Regions from separate parts of the Homo sapiens genome. Here regions 1, 2, 4, 5, 6 and 7 are each linked to region 3. Evidence: promoter capture Hi-C in 16 types of primary human blood cells and fetal thymus (Javierre and others, 2016). All regions are on one chromosome and are shown on one strand. The core of a region is centred on a gene start or on the middle of the fragment in contact, and the rest is flanking DNA. Distances in the headings are between cores, read along the strand shown.

Region 1 (3,472 bases), core at 603-3,102, 420 kb after region 3:
TTACAGATTTAGATTCTAACAGTTAAGACATCACAAACTGTAATCTTGCTTTTCTCATTGTAACAAAGTAAACAAGGAAAACTAGGAGTGATGTTCAATATATTGTTTTCAAGCAGCTCTGTAGCAAAACATTTGAATTAATAAAGATGCTACTTATAAATTATTTTTGAGGGGCCGAGTGTGGTGGCTCATGCCTGTAATCCTAGCACTTTGGGAGGCCGAGGCGAGAGGATCACTTGAGCTCACGAGTTCAATACCAGCCTGGGCAACATAGTGAGATCTCATCTCAAATAAATAAATAAATAAATAAATAAATGTTGACATTCCCAAAACTCATTGAAATCATAGAAAAATACTAGTACTCTCAGGTATGAGAGGGTGTGAGAGAACCACAAGTGATACTGCGGGAACGAGCTCAGAGCCCATAGCTGCAGGGGCGTCAACACCCACAAGGCCTGAAGAAAGGGAGAGAGAGTAACAGAAACCTGACTCAAGAACATTTTACAGGGTGAGGTATCTTGAGCCCAGGCAGCTCAAGGTGACCTCATAGGGAGGAAACCAAGGAAATAAGTGACCCTGATGTCACTCTGATCTCCTCCTGGGGCTTCCCGTTGGCCAAACCCTACTGGAAGCCAGTAGGCACAGGAGACCATTCACCCAGGTCAGCCTCCTGAGGCCGAAATCAGGGTGGAGAAGGGTGAAAGTGCATCTGGAGGGGCAAAGGGAAGGTATCAGATGACATGTTACAGGTGGTTTAATTCTGAGAAGTAAGCACTTTGTTCCCGGTAGGCAACCATACATTGTTAAGTTTTCAGTTTCAGCTGACTGGAGCTACTGGCTTCAGGTAAATAATAGCTCATCTCAAGGTAGCTACATGTCACAAAACACTCAATGGGGATTGGAACAATGCCTGTAAGGAGTGTGTGTGTGTGTGTGTGTGTGTGTGTGTGTGTGTGTGTGTGTGTTTTGTTTGTTACTATTCAAGGACAATATTTTCCAGGAATGAGACCAATGTACATTTTGCCACTCATAAGAAGTTGCATGGGAAACCCTGAGTTAATTGGCACCATGTTTCTAATTAATTCTAATAATAGTTAGAATCCTTTAATTGGGCCCCCTGAGCAATGATCCAGCACTGCCCTTTATTGTGAACTGATTAGACATAAGGAAGTAGAGGGAGATGAAGGACTTTAGAATTCTTTAAAGGCATTGTATTTGATGGGGTACATATGTAACACTGCATTTTCTCTAGCCAAATTTAGAACTATTTGAGAGAGAGAAAGAGACAGAGACAGAGAGACAGAGGCAGGGACAAGTAACTCAGGCAGTTCTCCTTGGAGGGCCTGCTTGTATGAAACCCATAGCAGAGAACAGACAGCAATGCATGGGCACTTTCTTTAGGTGCACAGATGCCAAAGGAAATAATAAAGTAGAGAGAAAGTAGGAAGCTGCATGTACTAAGGTTTTTTCTCCCAAATTCACTAATGAGATAATTCTCTCCTCCTCCTGCAGGGAGGAGTAAGGGAGGGGATGGAGAGAGGCCAAGGGTGGTACTCTGGAAAGATCCCACTACAAAAAAACCTAAGATAAGGAAAGAGGAAGTGCTTCTCCAATAGAAGACAATATCTTGGCTTACTGGATGCCATTAGAGAATATACAAGGAAAGGAAAAATAGTGACTTGGTTTGAGAAATGTTTGACTTTAGTTGCTAGTGGACATTAAGTTGCGGATATACAGTAGGAAGGTGCATATATGGATCTGGAGTTCAAGAGAGATGCTGGGCTGGAAATGTAGATTTGAGAGTCATATACATATGGATAAATAATAGTTGGAGATGGATATGAATAACAATGATTTGGGATTATGTACATAAAAAGAGGAGAAGATAACTCTTTGGAATCCTGGAGAACACCAGCATTCAAGGAATAGGTGAGAAGAAGTGAATATTAAAAAAGTAATGGAGAAAAGTAGGTAGAAGAAAAGCCAAGAGTGGCTGGGTGCAGTGGTTCATGCCTGTAATCCCAGCACTTTGGGAGGCTGAATTGGGCGGATCACTTGAGGTCAGGAGTTTGAGGCCAACCTGGCCAACATGGCAAAACCCTGTCTCTACTAAAAAGTACAATAAATTAGCTGGATGTGGTGGCGTGTGCCTGTAGTCCCAGCTACTCGGGAGACTGAGGCAGGAGAATCATTTGAACCCGGGAGGTGGAGGTTGCAGTGGGCCGAGATTGTACCACTGCACTCTAGCCTGGGCCACAGAGCGAAACCCTGTCTCCCAAACAAAACAAAACAAAAAAGCCAAGAGAAAGTGGTATTTTAAAAAATTTGATTCCTTTGGATTTATTTCTTTGTCCTGTTGACAGGTTATAGGGCATCCCAAGTATAATACTTATGATACTATAACAACAAATATTAACAGTCGAACTATTGTATTCAACTATAGTGTTGAGCACTAATGATCAATGACACAATTTGGGCATAAAGATCAAAATTTAATTATTTTATTTTAAATTTCTAGTGTATATGTGCAGGATGTGCAGGTTTGTTTCTTGTAGATTCTGGATATTAGAATCTACATGGATTGTTTTTCCATCTGTTTGTGTTCTCTCTGATTTCCTTGAGCAGTGGTTTGTAGTTCTCCTTGAAGAGGTCCTTCATTTCCCTTGTTAGCTGTATTCCTAGGTATTTTATTCTCTTTGTGGCAATTGTGAATGGGATTTCATTCATGATTTGGCTCTCTGCTTGTCTGTTGTTCGTGTATAGGAATGTTTGTGATATCTGTTCTCTCACGTTTACTGTAGCGCTATTCACAAAAGCTAAGATTTGGAATCAACCAACAGATGAATGGATAAAAATGTGGTACTTATACTCAATGAAATACAATTCAGCCATAAAAAAGAATGAGATCCTGTCATTTGCAACAACATGGATGGAACTGGAGGTCATTATGTTAAGTGAAATAACCCAGGCATAGAAAGACAAACATCGCATGTTCTCGCTTATTTGTGGGATCTAAAAATCAAAACAATTGAACTCATGGAGATAGAGAATAGAATTATTACCGGAGGCTAGGAAGGGTTGTGGGAGGGTAGGGGAGAGGTGGGAATGGTTAATGGGTATTAAAAAAATGGTTAAAAAGAATGAAAAGAACTAGCATTTGATAGCACAACGGGGTGACTGTAGTAAAAAATAATTTAATTGTACATTTAAAAATGACTAAAAGAGTATAAATTGGATTGTTTTATAACACAAAGGATAAATGGTTGAGGTTACCATTTACCCTGATGTAATAATTATACATTGCGTGACTGTATCAAAATATCTTGTGTACCCCATAAATAAATATACCTACTATGTACCTACAAAATTAAAAAGTAAAAGTAAAAAATTGAAAAAATATATTTTTGGTAGTTGTATAGAAGATGGATGAGTGGGGAATCTAGACCAGAGGTAGGGAGACCAATTAATAATT
Region 2 (3,163 bases), core at 13-2,512, 410 kb before region 3:
TTTCCTTCTCACGGGGCAGGAATCTTAAAAGCATGGCCTGTAAGAGTAGCCTACAACAAATGTCAGCTATCCTGTCAAGACGGTGAAAGCTATATATTTAGATAAACAGACTTAACTGCACCCCAGTCAGTCCTTATCCACACATTTGAGGATGTTAGGGGTTTGGAAGTTGTGTAGAAAGACATAAGACAGTGTAAGCCTAGGTTATAATCTTATTCCTTATACCATTATACCTTATGCCATTTTACAGGTGAAGGAATTAAGGCATCAGGCATTTAAACTTGCCCAGGTCATACAGTAAAAAGTGACACAATAGGGACTTGAATAAAGACTGGCTCTAGAGACCCTTGACACCCAAAGAGTAATCCATAGATCAGTAGTATTGCAACACCTGGAGGTTGTTAGAAATGTAGACTCTCAGGCTGTTTCCTAGACTGTTTAAATCAGAACCTGAATCAACAAGATCCTCAGGTGAGTCTTAGGCATGTTAAATTTTGAGAAAGACTGCTCTTAACTTCTCTAATTGAGACTTCCTGACCACCAGTGGCTTCCTCAGGTAAGAACCCCAGAACTTCAGTTCCATCAGCAATTTGAGGACACCTTGGCATCAGGCAGTCCCCCAATCTTCCTATGGAAGAATGCATGTATATGTATGTTTTTTGCCTTTACATAGTCTTTCAGTCCATGCATTATTGTGACATGTGGGAGGCAGGAGTTTTCAAATTTGTTCTTCCAGTGACAAACTCCGTTCTAACACACATGGTGTAACTCAGGTGCAAGATGAGCTCTGTGAGCATTTCCTCTTCTGCACAGCAGTAAAGGTAATAAGCAGTAAAACTGTGGCTTGCCTTCCCACTAAAGGAAACCAAAGAAATCGATGGTGTGTAAAGAACTCTGAGAAAAGGTTCAAAAAGAGAATCTGCTCTTTTCACACTCTTCCATGTCAGCGGGGAGAAAAACACAAAGATTCAATACCTAGCGATTTCAAGATGCTTTGTTGATTATCTTAACATGTCATCTTTCTGACCCCAACCGAAGACTGCATTATGGTCACTGTATTAAGGGTTGAGACAGAATTTAACATAGAAATAAGGTCACTCTTGTCGTTGTTCAGAATGATCTATGTTGATAAGGACTTTAAGAGGTTCATCGTATTTTTTTTTTGTAGTTATAACACCCACTAGTAAGACTTAAGTTGGTAGACACTGAAGAATGAGGAGACAAAAGGTTCCCGTGACAATAAAAATAAACCGTGTCTCCCCATCTGTGAAACGAGGAAGTAGAACTAGATTTCCATGCTTCCTTCCCTTTTTAAGATTTATGGTTCTATATAATAAACAAGGGTAAGTATAAAAGTAACTAGTAAGCACTTCCAGATGGTCCAATTTTCTCTTTACAAGAACCTCTGGGCTGGGTATGGTGGCTCACACCTGTAATCCCAGCACTTTGGCATGCCGAAGCAGGGGTGGATCATCTGAGGTCAGGAATTCAACACCAGCCTGGCCAACATGGCGAAACCCCGTCTCTACTAAAAATACAAAAAATTAGCCATGCATGGTGGCGGGCGCCTATAATCCCAGCTGCTTGGGAGGCTGATACAGGAGAATTGCTTGAACCCAGAAGGCAGAGGTTGCACTGAGCCAAGATCGTGCCATTGCACTCCAGCCTGGGCAGCAAGAGTAAAACTCCGTCTCGATGGAGCCAGACTCCATCTCAAAAAAAAAAAAAAAAAAAAAAAAAAAGAACCTCTGAGTGAGCACTTATCTTACAGGCCAAGAAACTGGGCACAGAGATATCCGTAACTCACCCAAGGTTATGTTCTAAGAGGAGAAGCTAATTCACACCTGCAGCGTGGCTCCAGAGACATGCCCTTATGCACCGCTCAGCTGCCTCCCTGCCTATAGCAAATGCACCTCTAGCTTCTCAGCTCCTGTTACTGGTGCAGTGGAAGTACCACAAACAGGAACGAGGCATTCCACACAGTGAGCATATTATTTTGATAAATATTCACAACATCCAATAATCTCTAAAGTAGTTCTCAATCCTGGCTGCACTTTACGAGTCAGCTGGGGAGCTTTAAGCAGCGCTAATTTCTGGGTCTCACTCAGATTCTCATGTAGTCAGTGTGGCAGATTGTCCAGCCATCGGGATTTTAATAAATGTATTTCTTTGGTGATTTAAATGTGTAGACCTGCTTAAGAATGACTCTAAATTTTCTGGGAATGGGGTTGTTCTGGGGGCAAGTTCTGCCCACAAAGGTTCAGGTATTGACTTTATTTTTTTTTTTGAGACAGAGTTTTGCTTTTGTTGCCCAGGCTGGACTGCAGTGGCGCAGTCTTGGCTCACTGCAACCTCTGCCTCCCAGTTCAAGCGATTCTCCTGCCTCAGCGTCCCAAGTAGCTGGGATTATAGCCATGTGCCACCACCACACCCGGCTCATTTTTTGTATTTAGTAGAAACGGGGTTTCACCATGTCAGTCAGGCTAGTCTCGAACTCCTGACCTTATGTGATCTGCCTGCCTCGGCCTCCCAAAGTCCTGGGATTACAGGCGTGAACCTCCACGCCTGGCCAGGTATTGAATTTATGTGTCAATCATTGATATCTTAGGGTTTTAAATTCTGCTACCTATAAAAAGTGAATTCACTTATGCTTGTCAATACCATCTGTAGTTTCAGATAAGCTTCCTATAAAAGGTCAGAGCCAGTGTCTTACGTATATCCCCAGAGCCTAACATCCCTAAACATCTGTTTACTTCCAACTGGAAAATAATTATTAAATCACATCCCTCTCACAATGACAGGATCTTAACAGAACACTCACTTAAATCCACTTACTGATTGTTGGTGAACTGAAAACTTAAATTGCTAGGCTTTGAGATAACAACGGTAGCACATTCTGACACTGTAATTTCTTGAGATTTTTGGCACGTTTTAGAAGGCTGAAGAGTAAGAAATTTATCTGACCTCTCCTAGCAGGGAACTGTTTCCATGACCCCAGCACAGGCAGCATAACTGAGAGATGCCTCCAGGGCAAGAGAAGATTGAGGCACTTATGCTTTGCTGACTGCTACAAAAATTGCACTTGACCACTTGACTCCCTCAACTCTGGTGTAATCATCAACTATTACCTGGTTAGTTTTGCCCTTTGTGGTGCCTGGTCCAC
Region 3 (3,017 bases), core at 369-2,868:
ATCAAGAGGTTGGTTTTGCAGCTGAGGCCCACAAAGTAGGCAGAGAACCGCATAAAGCAATGCAGGTGGGTGGAGGTGAGCTCCACCTCCAACGTTTCTCATAAGCTGGCGCTTTCCATCTAGGGGCCTTCCTTAACCAAAAAAAAGCTGGGAACTAAATCCAGGTAGACTTAAAGGCGCATTACCTATCTCATTATTTCTCTGTGTGAATGCTGGAGTTTTAATTACACACTTGCTTTTTATGGGGAAGAAGACCAAAGATCATATTTTTGAAGGTATCAACTTGTTTTCTATCAGACAGTTGTTTTAACAAGTTCTTTCAGCGACATGTTATGTCTTTAGGAAAGGGTGCTTCAGATGGTGCGCACTAGCACAATTTTGTGGCTTTTAATTACTATTTTGTTCTTTTGGGGGGTTTCAGAGGCTGGCGCCTGGGCGTGATTAGACCGTCTACCCCGCCCCCCGCAACCTCGCACACTGCCCACCAGGTGGCGCCACAAAGCAAGCGCTGCCGCAGGAACTTCGGACTTGGGAGTCCAGCAAGTCGTGCAGTCCATCACCGTCGGGCCAAGGTTTCCAACTACAAGGTTATAGAGACAGAGGAAGTCACCATTTCCGATTTTTTAAAAAACAGAGGGAAAAGAAAAAAATTGCAATGATAGGGTAGAACAGGGTCCTAAAATGCAAAACTGTAAAACAGGATTAAATTCAACAAACCAGATAAAACTTTTTATATTTGTTGTAAATTTACAGAGAAGTGATAAATCTAGTATCTACTTGATAAATCTATAATCTCACCTATTATCCTATTTCCTTTTTCGCAAGAGCATCGAATTTTCAAGGACAACTGGTGAACCTTTCCACCCGAAGGAGGAAGTCCTCGGGATGGCTTTCAGGGTGTCATTTACTTATCAAACGTATATAATTACTCAGAGTCTCGCGTGTCGGGAAAGTACCAGGGAAAGTGGTTTCAAATATACTATTAGCAATAATACCTTTAAGTTTATGTAGCTTCTCTTTGAAGCAACAAGGAAAACCCGTTTCAATATTATATGATTAATTGTCCTAATATCCCTGCGGATTGGTTAAGAAGCGAGCATTACACGTGGTTTGTGGATAATTAAATCAATTGATTATGTCAAGTGCCGAGTGGCTAACAAGAATAAATGCCAGACACTTCGAGGAAAAGTGAAGATAGAGCTGGCTGGACTCTGGGCACCGATGTACTTTAATGTGTTTGAAAACTGACCTCGGACATGAAAGTACGAATCACTGGAACTGGCACTTGCTCACAGAATGGGAGAGGGGACCCCACTTCTTCCTCTGAGGCAAAACGCCAGTCTGTCTCCACGCCTTCTGTCTTCCTGCTGCGGGCCACCCTGACTCCTCGCTACCTCGACCCCTCGCCTCGCTGCTCACATTCGGCGGCAGTCTGTTTGCACCTGGGGCCGCTGCAGCCGCAGCCGCAGCCACAGCGCCCACCATGTGACGCCCGCCCCTTGGCCGGGCGTTCCCGGAGCTCCGCGGCCGTTTGCTTCTGATTGGCTGTTGCTAGGTGACGTCGCCAGCGCTCACGTGACGAGTGTTAAATGCCCACACTTCAGGAGCCCGCCTGGCAGACAATCGTAAAGCCGCTCGGGGCCGCTCACCTGCTCCCGCCTCCCAGAGCCCCGACCCGGCCCAGCCACCCCTGCCCCCTCCACTGCCCGCCCCCCGCCAGAGCCCGCGCTCGCGCTGGGCAAGGAGCCGAGCGGGCCCAGAGGCCGAAAGAGGATGCGACCAGAGGCAGCTGTCCCGAGCAGCGCACGGTGATCGCCTCCCCCGGAGGAGGAGGCGCCTAGACGGTTGCCTCCTTTCTTGTTTCCCCACCACCACCCCCGTAATTACATTGGCTGCTGGAGGGGACCGGGAGAGACAGAGGAGGCGCCTGGCTTCCCCCGCACGCCCGCCACCTCTGCTCTTTCCCGTCTCGGGCCAGGATGACTGGAGTCTTTGACAGTCTAGTGGCTGATATGCACTCGACCCAGATCGCCGCCTCCAGCACGTACCACCAGCACCAGCAGCCCCCGAGCGGCGGCGGCGCCGGCCCGGGTGGCAACAGCAGCAGCAGCAGCAGCCTCCACAAGCCCCAGGAGTCGCCCACCCTTCCGGTGTCCACCGCCACCGACAGCAGCTACTACACCAACCAGCAGCACCCGGCGGGCGGCGGCGGCGGCGGGGGCTCGCCCTACGCGCACATGGGTTCCTACCAGTACCAAGCCAGCGGCCTCAACAACGTCCCTTACTCCGCCAAGAGCAGCTATGACCTGGGCTACACCGCCGCCTACACCTCCTACGCTCCCTATGGAACCAGTTCGTCCCCAGCCAACAACGAGCCTGGTATGCATAACGCTGAAGTCAAGAGTGCCGAGTCGGTCTAGTTAATGGGATGGATGGGTAAACGTGTTTGGGGCGGGGGGCCTTCGAAAGCTCTGGATTTTCACGCTGCCTGCTCACCGCCCGCTTGTGCCCTTTACCCTCCCCAGCCTCCAATCTGCCGCAGGTCGCCGGTTACGTCCCTCTCTCCTTTGGTAGGACCTGGTGGCCTCAAGAGCCAAGTGGGCGTGCTCTGCCTGCCTCATAAGGGCATCTCCTTGCCACCAGCTTCTTTCTCTTGGGTGTGCACTTGTCTCCCCCTTCCCTGGAGGGTACAGCTCCCGGGGTCGGTGGCGGCTCCGATCGCACGCTGCGAAGTTGCGCCTGCCCGTGGCGCCACAGTTCAGTGCACCCACCTCTTTGCTCAAGCCAAGTCCCCCCCGCCGGGCCCTCTAGGAGGGCGGGAACTCCAGGACCCCTGGGTTGCGCTGTTCTTACGATTCTTTATCGTTGCAGAGAAGGAGGACCTTGAGCCTGAAATTCGGATAGTGAACGGGAAGCCAAAGAAAGTCCGGAAACCCCGCACCATCTACTCCAGTTTCCAGCTGGCGGCTCTTCAGCGGCGTTTCCAAAAGACTCAATACTTGGCCTTGCCGGAGCGA
Region 4 (3,233 bases), core at 24-2,523, 410 kb after region 3:
TCTTCCTTTCTCTCTCATATCCCAAAGTAATGGGATGACAGGTGTGAACCACCACACACAGTTCGAATTAGATCAAAATTGAGCTTTTAAATCTAACTTCCAGTTTAAAGGAAATATAAGGGATAAAAGCTAAATGTGAGAATGCCATCAGACAAACCCAGGAGGGGAGACAGTCTACAAACCAATTGGCCCACCCTCTTCAACAAGTAGATATCATGAGGCAAAAAGTAGTATGTGTGTGGAGAATATTCAAGATTTTTAAAAATTAGGAAGGGTGTAGTGGCTCATGCCTGTAATCCCAGCACCTTGGGAGGCCAAGGCAGGAGGATCGCTTTGAGCCCAGGAGTTCAAAGCCAGCCCTGGCAACATAGTGAGACCCCATCTCTATAAAAAAAAACAAAAACAAAAACAAAACAAAAAAATTAGTTGGGCATGGTGGTGTGCACCTATGTTCCCAGCTACTTGGGAGGCTGAGGTGAGAGGATCGCTTGAGCCTGGGAGGTTGAGGCTATAACAAGCCATGGTTGCACCACTGCATTCCAGCCGAGGTGACAGAGCAAGACCTTGTCTCAAAAATAATAATAATAATAATAATTAAGAAAAATAAAAACATATAGCAATGCAATGTATGTATGGTACAGCAACACTTTGGAGGGAAACAAACTAAATTTCTTGAGGAAAGAAAAATGTTTGTGAACCTAGGACTATTTTGTAAAAGGAACAAAGGGGGTGATTTTCTGTATCAGAAATTAGAATATAATACAAAGGTGCAGTAATTAAAACTGGGTTGTGTAGAACCAAACAAATAGATTCATAGTGAAAATAGAGAGCCCAGAAATGCCCATAAATATATGGGAATTTACTGTATGACAAAGTTGGCATCGGACTTCAGTGGGGGAAAAGATAGACTAACAAATGGCACTGAGAAAATTAGCTACCTATATAGAGAAAAATTAGGTTGGATCCCTACCTCATACTATTTTTAAAAATATAACCCAAATATCTACATGTGAAGGGTAAAACTATAAAATTAATAGGAAAAACATAGAAGAATATATTTGCATCCACAATGTAGGAAACAATTTCTTTTTAAAAAAGACCAAAAGCACACAAAAAAGGGTTATACAGGTTGAGTATCCCTTACCCAAAATGTTTGGGACCAAAGGTGACAGATTATTTTGGATTTTTGACTATTTGCATTATACCTAGCAGTTCAGTATCCTAACTTAAAAATCTGAAATCTGAAATTCTCTAATCAGTATTTCTTTTGAGTGTCATGTTGGTGCTTAAAGTGTTTCAGATTTTGGGGCATTTTGAATGCTGAATTTTTGGATTAGGAATACTTAGCCTGTAATTGCTAGATTTGATCATATCAAAATGAAGGATTTGATCATATCAAAATAGAGGATTCTGTTCAATGAAGAATATTATAAGCAGTTAACAGATTAGAAGGGTTTTTAAAAAGACTAAAACAGACAAAAGTCCTCCCTAAAATATACAAAATACACAAAGAATGCCTATACATCAGAAGATAAAGAACCTCAATCATAGTAAATGGGGAGAAGGACATGAATATGCAGTTCACAGAAGGGAAAACTTGAATGGTTAAAAGATATATAAAGAGGTGGTCAACCTCACTGTAATCAGATAAATGTATATTAAAACATTTTGGTGTACCACTTTATACTCATCAAGTTAGCAAAAATTAGAAAGCTGGATAATATCCAGTCATCATGTGAATATGGTAAAGCAGTTACTTTTTCATGCACTGGTAGCGGGCGGGTAAACTTTGTAGCCATTCTGGAGAGTGACACGCAGAACCTAATTAAGCTAAGTCTTATATACAATAACATAGCAAGTAAATTCTTGGGGATACACCCCAGAGAAAGTATTCCACAGTCCTCAAGGGAAAAAACACATATTTTTTGCAGTGTTGCTTATGATAGTAAAGCAAAGAGACAAAAGGAAACTGAGTGCATAGCACTGGGGGAATGGATAAGTAAAATGTGGTACATAATAGGATATTATATATTAGAAATAAATGACTAAATACGTATATAGCAACATGGAATAAACAAAAGACATACAGCACTATGCCATTTATATATATAAAGTATATATACACAGAGATATGTGAAACCTTGAAAAACAGAGGATAATCTGAAGGATGTATGTTAAAAATTCAAAAGTGGGCCGGGCATGGTGGCTAACACCTGTAATCCAAGCACTTTGGGAGGCCGAAGAAGGCGGATCATGAGGTCAGGAGTTCGAGACCAGCCTGGCCAACGTGGTGAAAGCCCGTCTCTACTAAAGATACAAAAAATTAGTCAGGTGTGGTGGCACGTGCCTGTAATCCCAGCTACTTGGGAGGCTGAGGCAGGAGAATCGCTTAAACTCGGGAGGTGGAGGTTGCAGTGAGCTGAGATCACGTGATTGCACTACAGCCTGGGCGACAGGGCAAGACTCCGTCTCAAAAAAAAAACCAAAAACCAAACAAATAAACAAACAAAAACTGCAAAAGTGGTCACTTAATGCATTAGTGGGAATGAGAATGGAATTAGAGATGAGAAATGAGGGACACATACACAAACCCTAAAGAATGGTCTTTCAAGAATTAATGATGGAGATGGGCCATTGATACAGTTTGGACATCCCCTCCAAATCTCTTGTTGAGATGTAATCCCCAGTGTTGGAAGTGGGGCCTAGTGGGAGATGTTTGGGTCATGGAGGCGGATCCCTCACGGTTTTGTTTAAAACTGTGTGGCACCTCCCCCCACCTCTTGCTCTTGCTCACTGCATGAGACATGCTGACGCCCCTTTGCCTTCTGCCATGATTAGAAGCTTCCTGAGGCCTTGCCACAAGAAGCCAGCAACATACTTCCTGTAAAGCTTGCAGAGCCATGAGCCAATTAAACCTCTTTTCTTTTTTTTTGAGACGGAGTTTCACTCCTGTTGCCCACACTGGAGTGCAATAGCCAGATCTCAGCTCACCACAACCTCTGCCTCCCAGGTTCAAGCAATTCTCCTGCCTCAGCCTCCTGAGTAGCTGGGATTACAGGCATGCGCCACCACGCCCACCTAATTTTGTATTTTTAGTAGAGACGGGGTTTCTCCGTGTTGGTCAGGCTAGTCTTGAACTCCCGACCTCAGGTGATCCGCCCACCTCGGCCTCCCAAAGTGCTGGGATTACAGGCGTGAGCCACCCCACCCAGCCACCTCTTTTCAAGTTACCC
Region 5 (3,057 bases), core at 35-2,534, 500 kb after region 3:
CTCCAGCCTGGGCGACAGAATGAGACTGTCTAAAAAAAAAAAAAAAAAACAAACAAAGAAAAACAAAATAAGCCATCCTCTCATGAATATCACTTATCCTAACATTTAAGAACCATTGATATTTGTAATGATTTTGTTTTTCATAATTTAAAACTAGGGGAAGACAGGCCGGGTGCGGTGGCTCATGCCTATAATCCCAGCACTTTGGGAGGCCGAGGTGGGTGGATCACGAGGTCAGGAGATCGAGACCACCCTGGCTAACACAGTGAAATCCTGTCTCTACTAAAAATACAAAAAATTAGCCAGGTGTGGTGGCAGGTGCCTGTAATCTCAGCTACTCGGGAGGCTGAGGCAGGAGAATGGCGTGAACCCGGGAGGCGGAGCTTGCAGTGAACCGAGATTGCGCCACTGCACTCCAGCCTGGGCGACAGAGCAAGACTCTGTCTCAAAAAAAAAAAAAAAAATAGGGGAAGACAATTAAGTCAAAGTCACTTCCTGGCTTTCAAATATTTATTTTACATATTTATAGAGGTGAAGATGCAGAGAAGTTCTCCTCTTGCATATCACAGGTATCCACAAGTTCCACAATATGCTAAAGGCTCCCAAGAAAAATATCAGGTGTTCAAATTCTTACATAAACACGAAACTGACGCTTTTTCCCTTTAAGCTTCCCACAAATGACCTCTAAGTTGGAAAACGTCTTGGCATAAAAACAAAAATACTGCTCTAAAGGAAAAAGAGAAGGTGGCCTTGGAGTCCCTGAAGCACAACGTGAAAGAAACAAGAGAAAGAAACCAGCTCTGATATGTTTTCCGACAGTGACCCAGGTGCCTCTGGAGGAGGTGGCTCAGGAAAGAGGGGAAAAGAGGAACAAAATAAATTATGGGGAATCTAAAAGGGGCAATTCGAATTTCTGGAAAAGTTCTTTCTAAGTGGCTTGTTAGCAATAAGGCAAGACACATGGACATATGTGTCCTAAATCAGTAACCCCTACCCTTTGTTTTTTCTAGCCAAGGTTGATTTGAAGAATGTTAAAGCACATGGATTGTATATAGAAATATCAGGAAAGACCCCGTCTCAAAAAAAAAAAAAAAAATCAGGAAAGATGGCTGCCAAAATATGAATGTGGCTGTCTCTGGATGACGGGATTTCAGGTGTTTTTTGTCTTTATAATTTTCTGTACTTGGCTTTATTTTATTTCAACAAGCAGGTATTATTTACAAAGTCAATAAGCAAATGGTTATTATTTAAAAATAGTTGTGCATATGAGTACGTTACATGTGAAAGTGAGATGGTAAAGAAAACAATGGGAAATGATCGTGTTCATCTAATCCATGAAGAGGCCCCTGCCCTTTGTAGCAGATCATTGTCTCCTGATTCAGGAACAAACAAAGGAAAAAGGCCAGGACCCGTCACCCTCTAACAAGTCATAATCAGTCTCCCATCCCCTCCCGCCTCTCAAATCTGAGGATGAGAAGGAAGTAGGAGAAGGAAGAGGGGAGGGCAGGTCAATTAGAGGAGAAGAGGTGAGAAGGGACCTGAGGGTTCCGGGGCTGAGACCCTCCTCAGGCAGCTGAGGGATTGGCTGGAAGATGGACGGAGAGTGGATCACAGATGAGCTTGCTGAGATTTTCATGTACTCATTAGATTTACAAGTTAATTTACTTTGTGGACCAGGCAAAGGGTATTATATTAAGAAATAAATGATTTAACTATTGGTCCATGTTTGGGACCACCTCAGTTTTTACACAGAACACCGTGCCTCATCAGATGTTTTTGCCTAACATGGCAGTAAAGGTAATTTTTCTCTAGGGAGTATCCCAGCTTTTAAATAATGTTTTCTAGAACATTTCTAGCTGACAGGGAGTTTATAGAGTTTAAAGTTTAAAATATAAGCTTACAGGGTTAAGCTTATATTTTTACTTTCTGACAGGTAAAAAAAACTTTGTAATCTTCTCCACACAGCAATATTTACCAGTAATCCACACTTCCAACCACAACATGATTTTTGCAGGGATAGGGTTAGGCTTGGGCTGACTAGAGATTTTCTTCAAAGAGCCTCCTCATCATCAAGGCCCTTTGGAGTTTAGAATGTGTGTGGAAGGGAAGATGCCAACGCGAAGTGTGTGAGAACAACAGAAGGAGGAGACTTTCTTTTATTTTTATTTTCGAGATGGAGTCTCCCTTAGTCGCCCAGGCTGGAGTGCAGTGGAGTGATCTCAGCTCACTGCAACCTCCGCCTCCCAGGTTCCAGCAATTCTCCTGCTTCAGCCTCCTGAGTAACTGGGATTACAGGCACGTGTCACCACGCCTGGCTAATTTTTGTATTATTAGTAGAGATGGGATTTGACCATGTTGGCCAGGATGGTCTTGAACTCCTGACCTCAGGTGATCCACCCACCTCTGCCTCCCAAAGTGCTGGGATTACAGGTGTGAGCCACTGTGCCGACGTATCTTTTAATTTTTAAAATAGAGATAGGGTCTCACCATCTTGACCAGGCTGCTCCTGAACTCCTGGCCTCAAGTGATCCTCCCATCTTGGACTCCCAAAGTGCCGGGATTACAGATGTGAGCCACCACATCTGGCCAGAAGGAGCAGACTTTGTCCAGAGAATTTTTAAAGAGAAAAAAAGCTGGTTAAAAGTGGGGATATCTGGGGCAGAGCACTTGGGAAGGTTATGGAAGCTGGAGGCCAAGAGGCGCCATCGCAGAACAACACAAAAATTCAGGTGAGGTGAGGAGAAGGGAGAGCAGCTTTGGGCAGCACAGAAGGCAGCAAATACAGAAAATTATAAAGATCAAAAACCTGAAATCCCACCATCCAAAGACAGCCACAAAGGTATTTTGGTAAACATCTTTCCTGATATTTCCATATTCAATCACGTGCTTTAACATTCTTTAAATCAATTAAAAAAAAACAAAAACAAAAAACAAAACAGGGTCTGGCTCTGTTGCCCAGGCTGGCATGCAATGGTGCGATCATGGCTCACGGCAACCTCTGCCTCCCAGGCACAAGCAATCCTCCCACCTCAGCCTCCTGAGAAGCTGGGATTACAG
Region 6 (3,427 bases), core at 790-3,289, 450 kb before region 3:
ATATTAAATGGTGTCAACTTTTGCTTCTTAGTCAAAGACTTAGAGTCCAGAAACTGGAGAGAACCTTTGAGGACTTTAGTAAACAGCTGTATTACTTCTCTGTTGTTATGGTCTGAATGTGTCCCCTAAAATTTCTATGTTGAAACTTAATTATCAATGTGATAGTATTAAGAGGTGGAGCCTTTAGGAGAGAATTAAGTCATGAGGGCAGAGCCTTATAAAAGGGCGTGAGGGGGTGAGTCAGTTCCTACCATCTCTTCTACCATGTGAGTGAAACTGCCTTTGAAAAATTATAACAGTGAGAAAATTTTGACAGTGAAAGAGATCTGACCTAACCAACTCCATCTTGCTTCTCACTTCCAAGCTGCCCTTGTTTATTCCTGGGCATAGGCCAAACTAACTTTGGGAGGAATTTAGATTACAAACTTTGAAACAAAGATGATAAGAGCTCTTCCATGAAACAAATCCCCAGCTTTCCTGGGGACCAGACCACCTTTGTTAAACTAACAGATTAGGCAGGGCACAATGGCTCATGCCTGTAATCCCAGCACTTTGGGAGGCCAAAATGGGAGGATTGTGTAAGTCCAGGAGTTCGAGACCAGCCTGGGCAACATAGACCTTGTCTCTACAAAAAATGAACAAAATTAGCTGGGCATGGTGGCACTTGCCTGTAGTGCTTCGTGGGGAGCATCACTTGAGCCCAGGAGGTGTAGTTTGCAGTGAGCCAAGATCCTGCCACTGCATTTCTGCCTGTGTGACAGAGCGAGACCTTGTCTCAAAAAATAAGTAAACTAACAAATTAACTAGAAGATTAGAAATTATAGCTCAGGAGTCATGCAGCCAGAGTCCACAAGATCACCAACCTCCACAATTGCTCCTATAGATAACATTGCTATTATAAAACCTAACATTGGTGTTTGAGTTATTTTTCAAATCCTGAATTCCAGTGGACCAGCTGGAACCACACAGATAAGTAAAATGACTCATCTGGTCTTGTGGCCCCCTCCAGAAACTGACTCAGCATAAGATGACAGCTTCGACTCCCTATAATTTTATTCCTGACCCAACCAATCAGCATTCCCCATTCTATAGCCTGCTGTCTGCCAAACTATAAAAAAACCCTAGCCTCTGAATTTTCAGGAGGTTAATTTGAGTAGTAATAAAACTCATCTTCTGTTTAGCCAGCTCCACATGCACTAAACTCTTTGTCTTGATAAATTGGCTCTATCTGGTCAGCAGGCAAGAAAAACCTATTGGATGGTTACATGAGGACACAGCAAGAAAGCCCTTATGAGACACTGAGTTCCGGCATCTTGATCTTGAACTTCACAGCCTCTAGAACTGTAAGAAAACTAATTTCTGTCATTTATAAATTATCCAGACTGTATTTTGTTACAGCACCACTAACAGACTAAGACACACATGTAGATATAAAGTGTAATCATACTGTAAGCTTCTATAAAAAAATTTTTACATAGCAGACATGAGCCAGCCCCTGTAAATTCACTGAGAATTTGTGATCCATGTTGGACTGATGTGACTGAAAGGAATGGAAAAAGCAATACAAAACAAGCTAGACTGTGTCACCTTGTCCCCAGTACCCTCTGGCTTCATGAGGTTCAGAAGACAAAAGGAAAGAAAAGTCATATTTTTTCCCCCTGCTTCTTTTCTTCCAAGCTATAATTTGTGTTCCTCTAAGTGTGGCCATAGCTTCCTACCCTTGTCCAGTATCCATAGAGATAGTACTAATTTTTCTCTGTTGCTGATTGGGTGCTCACCAGCCCTGGAGGTTTAATTCTGCCCACACTCCTGTAAATAGTCCCTTCATTAATTAATTAATCAATTTCCCTTTTGAGTGTGCTATCATTTCCTGCCCTAGAACCCTTTTTGATATGCTGGAAAGATAATTTTCAAAAAAGGTAAAATAATGACTCTCATGCAGCTATAAAATGAACATGTGTCAAAAATTTTATTTAATACATTAATTAAATGAGGGAACCAGTAAAGATATTATAGCCAGTTCAAAGGAGAAGTGAAAAAACAGGAATTCAGAAAAATTTGCAAAGGCTGTAAAACTGGCTCTTTCCTTGGGAATCAGGGAGGGTTGCCCTTCTACCTGACAGAATTTATTTGCACATGTATAGGTAAGAATTATGTGCGTTGTTACCATTTATCTGCAATTTACAGAGTTGTAAAATAGCTCAAAGACAGTGAATTGGAATCAGATACCCTGAAAAGTTGTGCTCTAAACAATACGTAATATTCCACTGAAGCATAATTTTTCTCCATATACATTTGCCTTCTTTCTTTAAAGGGTACTTTGATTCAGGTAATTACTTGTGTAGTGATATGAGGGCATCCTATTCACCAGGATTTATTTAGCACAAACATAGTTTTTATCTGGAGTAAGTGCTTTGAAATGCTGATGGAGTGGAAGGAGAGATCTGTAGGGAAGGCTCAGAACAGCTTTACAGGAAGCAAGGAGAGGAATTCACTTTGTAGAGCAAAGGGGAAGGGGAGGAGGCAGAAGATTGCAAAGACTGTTCACAATGTGAGCACTCCTTATAACCCAAACCTTCAGTAAAGTTTGCAAAAAAAGAGAGATTATTGGATACTGAAGCTTTTATGTGTTGTGCTTTTGTGAAAATTGGAGGAAAGGATGAATTTTTTTTATGAGAGTTTGTGGCAATGGAGATAGACTTTGCACACAAAGAGTCTGAGTGGTGGTGGGGTGGGGGGTACTATAAATGAGACTATGAGCCTCAAGAATTTACAGACATGGACAGGGAGAACTCTAGACTTTCACAAACTGAGACTGGTAATGTTAAAAGATAAATTTGGGCACATTAAAAGTTTTAAAAATTTATTTGAACTGTTGATTTAAAAAAAAGACTCAAACTCTGTAAAATATTTTAAGAGATTTATTCCGAGCCAAATGTGAGTGACCAAGGCCTGAGGCACAGTCCCAAGAGGTCCTGAAAACATGTGCCCAAGGTGGTCGGGTCATAGCTTGATTGTGTACAGTTTTAGGGGAACAGAAGTTGCAGGCAGACATCACTCAGTACATGTAAAGCGTACACTGCTTTGGTCTGAAAAGGCAGGACAACTTTAAGACGTAATATAGGGGGATTGGGAAACTTGTGGCAGGAGGGGGCTTCCAGGTTATAGGGAGAGTCAAAGATTTTCTGACTGGCAATTGGTTGAAAGAGTTAAGTTACTATCTCAAGACCTAGGATCAATTGAAAGGAGTGTCTGGATTAAGACAAGGGGTTGTGGAGACCAAGATTCTTATTACACAGATAAAGGTCCCACATAGCAGGCTTCAGAGAGAACAGATAGTAAATGTCTCTTATCAGACCTAAAAAGGTGTCAGACCTTAAAAGGAAAAACCTGGAAAGGGAAGGGGATCCTCTACAGAATATAGATT
Region 7 (3,271 bases), core at 440-2,939, 390 kb after region 3:
AAGGAGAGTAGTTAAAAGTGTCTGTGATGATCTACTATTAAGTCAAAAGGTTGTAAATAGTTACAATCCTAATTTTCTTTTTTTTTTTTTAAACGGAGTCTTGCTCTGTCGCTCAGGCTGGAGTGCAGTGGCGCAATTTTGGCTCACTGTAACCTCTGCCTCCCGGGTTCAAGCAATTCTTCTGCCTCAGCCTCCAGAGTAGTTGGGATTACAGGCACCCACCACCACGCTCGGCTAATTTTTGTAGTTTTAGTAGAGACAAGGTTTCACCATGTTGGTCAGGCTGGTCTTGAACTCCTAATCTTAAGCAATCCACCTGCCTTGGTCTCCCAAAGTGCTAGTACGGGTGTGAGCCACCACGTCCGGCCACAATCCTAACTTTTTTTTAGGTTTAGGCAAATATGAAAATTTAAAGATTTTCTTTGGTAGTAGACAGGGATTTCAAGGATTTCTCCTCACTTTTGCTTACCTGTATTTCCTGGCTTTCTGCAATGAATATAACTTTTGTTTTTCCTTAATGGAGAAACATGGTAATTTAATTAAAAATTTAAAAATACATTAATTTAAACATCTGATAAAATTTCTATTCCAAAATTGTTAACAGCTCTAAAATCCATAACTCATTTGGTGGTAAACTCTGACATGGTAAAGTCAGAGGTAAAGCTATTTATAATCATTACTTATCTCACTTAGTATGTTCATATGTTTTGCTGCCAAAATATTAATGCCCAAAATACTACTAGAGTGTTAACATATAATACATATATTTTATTACTTTTACATAATCTGAAAAACTTGGAATTCTAATATATATATGGCCCCAAAAGCTTCAGAAAAGACACTGTGAAGTGTATTAGGGATCTCACATAAATCTTTTTTTTTTGTATGATATAAATTCATTAGCCTCACTGGGAAAATGAGATCGTAGTACTTTATGCTTGAATCGTTAGCTATTTGTAATGCTTTCTGGTTTAAGAACCAAAGGGTCTCCACATTCAATAGGTCTGTGCATACGTCCCCATACTATACACAAATTACAGGCTACTAACTAATCAACAAAATAGAGCCCCTATATCATAAAAGAGAAAATTTAAGAATTAAGTCTAGATTTGTTCATTAGTATGAATAACATCAGGGTACAGTATGCTTTTCAGAAATAATTTACATGACTTTGTTTACTATGGGACCCACTCTCTTTTGGGGAAGAATTATGCTCAATGACAGAAACAGAAAATTCTTAAGCTTTTTGGCTTCTAAAAGCAGTATACATTAATGACAAAATAAGGGCTGAAAGACTTAAATTTATGTCAACAAAATTAAGAAACCACACATACAGCTTACAACGTTAACTTCTAATAAGTTTTAAAACTCGAAAAAATGAAGACATAAATACAGAAACTGTAAAGCATTAGTTTTCTCATGTTTCCCTAAGAAAACATGCCAAAACACAAAAGCAAAAAAGAAACAAAACAAAAATCAAAGGAAGAAAAAAAGAATCTATGTATTTAACATAGGTGCTCAATGACAATTATACTAAGGATAGATATTCACCTTCTTTGGGTTGAGCCATAACTGGAGTCTGAGTTTCCTTTGTATACGTGACAATTTCTCGAGGAGGAAAGTCGACTTGCGTGATTTTAGCCATTCCAAGTTTAATAGGTCCTCGTCTAAATTAAGTAAATACAAACAACACAATTTTAACTACATCAAACCATGTTATTTTCAAAAATTAAGAATTAAACAGTCATTTGCACCCAACATTGTAATTTCAATCCATTTTATTCAAGAAATTTTAGATTAACAATAAATTGGCTTTATTTTAGCAAAAGAATGAGAAGGTAGCAAAAGCAAAAGATATTTCTGAATCATTCAGTGTTTTTATTTTCATTTTAAAAAGGCAAGTAATTTCATTTTTTTAGAACAAATGTGCGGGCAATAATGAAGTAAGAGAATAGGAACTTCAGAGTGGACCACTGAATAAGGTTGTCGTAAGAACTGGTTTCAGCTGGGATATGGTTCTTTCTGGACTTTTTTTTAAGAATCAGACTAGATATCACTCAGACCACATTTAGCTGATTGTGCCACTAGGAGAATTCAGCTTTACGACTGAAAAACAGGTTTCTGTTGAAAGCTTTTTTTCTACTTATATTTGGCAGAAATTGAGAATTACACTATCAATTTGGACTTTAAAATGAAATATTTAAAACTTTTAAATCTCTAATCTCTGCATGATCAATACTGTCCTTGATTCACATTATGGAGAAACTAAGGTCCAGATATTCTACACTTAGACTAAAGTGACAGATCTTTTGAATACCATAAATCTACTAAAGTCACTTCTGTTTAGAAATACAGGGTATACATTCTTTTTTGACAATGGAAGAGAGCTGTGGCTGAGGAAAATGAACCAAAAGAAAAATATATTTTATTAGCTATCTGGGAGATCTTTTATTGGTTTTATTAGATGTTTAAATCCTAAACCAAATAAAGTACGCTTCCAGACTCCCAAAAAAGTTCTCAGTGATGAAGCTGCCTTAAAAGGATATACAATAAAGACACTGCTGCAACTTTCAGAATATAAAGCAGGCTATCGCTGGTAATATAACTTTTTTCTTATATAAATATTCTTTTCAGTTCTATTTAGTAACTAAATCCAAGTCCTATACAATCTAATAAAGCATAACAAAGTACTATAAAGTATAATAAAATTAGTACATTTTAAAAATTAATGTTCCAAAATGTGGGCCATAACAATTTTTTAATGTCTTTTCTAGTTTAGAAATAAAAAAGAAAGGGAAAAAAAAAGTATAGTCAAAGAATTAAGTGGACAATTTAAGTAATCTGAAGTAATCTAGAAGTCTAAGAATAAAATTTGAAATAAGAAACTTTATATTCTGATTTTTAAGATGCAAATTATATAAAAAGTAAATCACTCACATAGCTGGAAAAAAATCGTCAAGCCAACAATATTAGGAATCAATTACCAACTTGAATGCATACAGAGTCTAACAGAAAAAACCATAATACTAAACAAACGAAATATTCCAAGATTTTATAGGAGGAGGTGGGTAGGGAAGTAATACCTCACTTATCCAAAAGCCACTTTTACTGAAAATAAGGAAGCAATGGGAGGCAGGAGGGGGAAGCCTCAGTGTGGCCACTACAGAGGGCTTCCAGTTCAAGTACAAGAAACTCATATATTTTTCTTACATGCCTCAAATCAAGGCTTATTTACCTTACTTTAGACACAATTCCAAAAGGTATATTCATA

Evidence for each region. Contacts are between HindIII fragments. The CHiCAGO score rates a contact against its expected background, and 5 or more counts as called.
Region 1: a fragment that was not itself captured here is called in contact with the fragment with the promoter of DLX2 in region 3 in 1 of 17 cell types (erythroblasts); the score reaches 6.2 in erythroblasts.
Region 2: a contact is called between a fragment that was not itself captured here and the fragment with the promoter of DLX2 in region 3, in 1 of 17 cell types (non-activated CD4 T cells). The highest score is 6.3, in non-activated CD4 T cells.
Region 4: a fragment that was not itself captured here is called in contact with the fragment with the promoter of DLX2 in region 3 in 2 of 17 cell types (erythroblasts and megakaryocytes); the score reaches 10.6 in erythroblasts.
Region 5: a contact is called between a fragment that was not itself captured here and the fragment with the promoter of DLX2 in region 3, in 5 of 17 cell types (megakaryocytes, M0 macrophages, monocytes and 2 more). The highest score is 8.3, in megakaryocytes.
Region 6: a contact is called between a fragment that was not itself captured here and the fragment with the promoter of DLX2 in region 3, in 1 of 17 cell types (fetal thymus). The highest score is 5.1, in fetal thymus.
Region 7: a contact is called between a fragment that was not itself captured here and the fragment with the promoter of DLX2 in region 3, in 6 of 17 cell types (megakaryocytes, erythroblasts, M0 macrophages and 3 more). The highest score is 15.8, in megakaryocytes.

Annotation. Positions count from the first base shown.
Region 1 is chr2:171,676,944-171,680,415 of GRCh38, reverse strand. No RefSeq gene overlaps it. Among named protein-coding and RNA genes, the nearest start is that of DYNC1I2, 8.8 kb to the left of the region's middle. The HindIII fragment of the contact is 9,909 bases long and covers 1-3,472 here.
Region 2 is chr2:172,508,422-172,511,584 of GRCh38, reverse strand. All of the region lies in intron 1 of PDK1-AS1 (PDK1 and ITGA6 antisense RNA 1), which reads left to right. Among named protein-coding and RNA genes, the nearest start is that of ITGA6-AS1, 44 kb to the right of the region's middle. The HindIII fragment of the contact is 2,843 bases long and covers 1-2,683 here.
Region 3 is chr2:172,101,501-172,104,517 of GRCh38, reverse strand. DLX2 (distal-less homeobox 2) reads left to right here and starts at 1,618. Exons shown (of 3, transcript NM_004405.4): 1 at 1,618-2,379; 2 at 2,872-3,017. The coding sequence starts at 1,980. DLX2-DT (DLX2 divergent transcript) reads right to left here and starts at 1,512. Exons shown (of 5, transcript NR_126376.1): 1 at 1,250-1,512; 2 at 486-580. RefSeq lists a silencer at 1,617-1,816. The HindIII fragment of the contact is 7,057 bases long and covers 1-3,017 here.
Region 4 is chr2:171,694,357-171,697,589 of GRCh38, reverse strand. The region is part of intron 3 of DYNC1I2 (dynein cytoplasmic 1 intermediate chain 2); the gene reads right to left. Among named protein-coding and RNA genes, the nearest start is that of DYNC1I2, 8.5 kb to the right of the region's middle. The HindIII fragment of the contact is 3,141 bases long and covers 1-2,843 here.
Region 5 is chr2:171,600,970-171,604,026 of GRCh38, reverse strand. No RefSeq gene overlaps it. Among named protein-coding and RNA genes, the nearest start is that of CYBRD1, 80 kb to the right of the region's middle. The HindIII fragment of the contact is 1,229 bases long and covers 670-1,898 here.
Region 6 is chr2:172,550,521-172,553,947 of GRCh38, reverse strand. All of the region lies in intron 1 of PDK1-AS1 (PDK1 and ITGA6 antisense RNA 1), which reads left to right. Among named protein-coding and RNA genes, the nearest start is that of PDK1, 3.9 kb to the left of the region's middle. RefSeq lists a silencer at 833-1,127 and an enhancer at 833-1,127. The HindIII fragment of the contact is 1,167 bases long and covers 1,456-2,622 here.
Region 7 is chr2:171,713,724-171,716,994 of GRCh38, reverse strand. DYNC1I2 (dynein cytoplasmic 1 intermediate chain 2) reads right to left here. Exons shown (of 18, transcript NM_001378.3): 7 at 1,552-1,667. Among named protein-coding and RNA genes, the nearest start is that of DYNC1I2, 28 kb to the right of the region's middle. The HindIII fragment of the contact is 889 bases long and covers 1,245-2,133 here.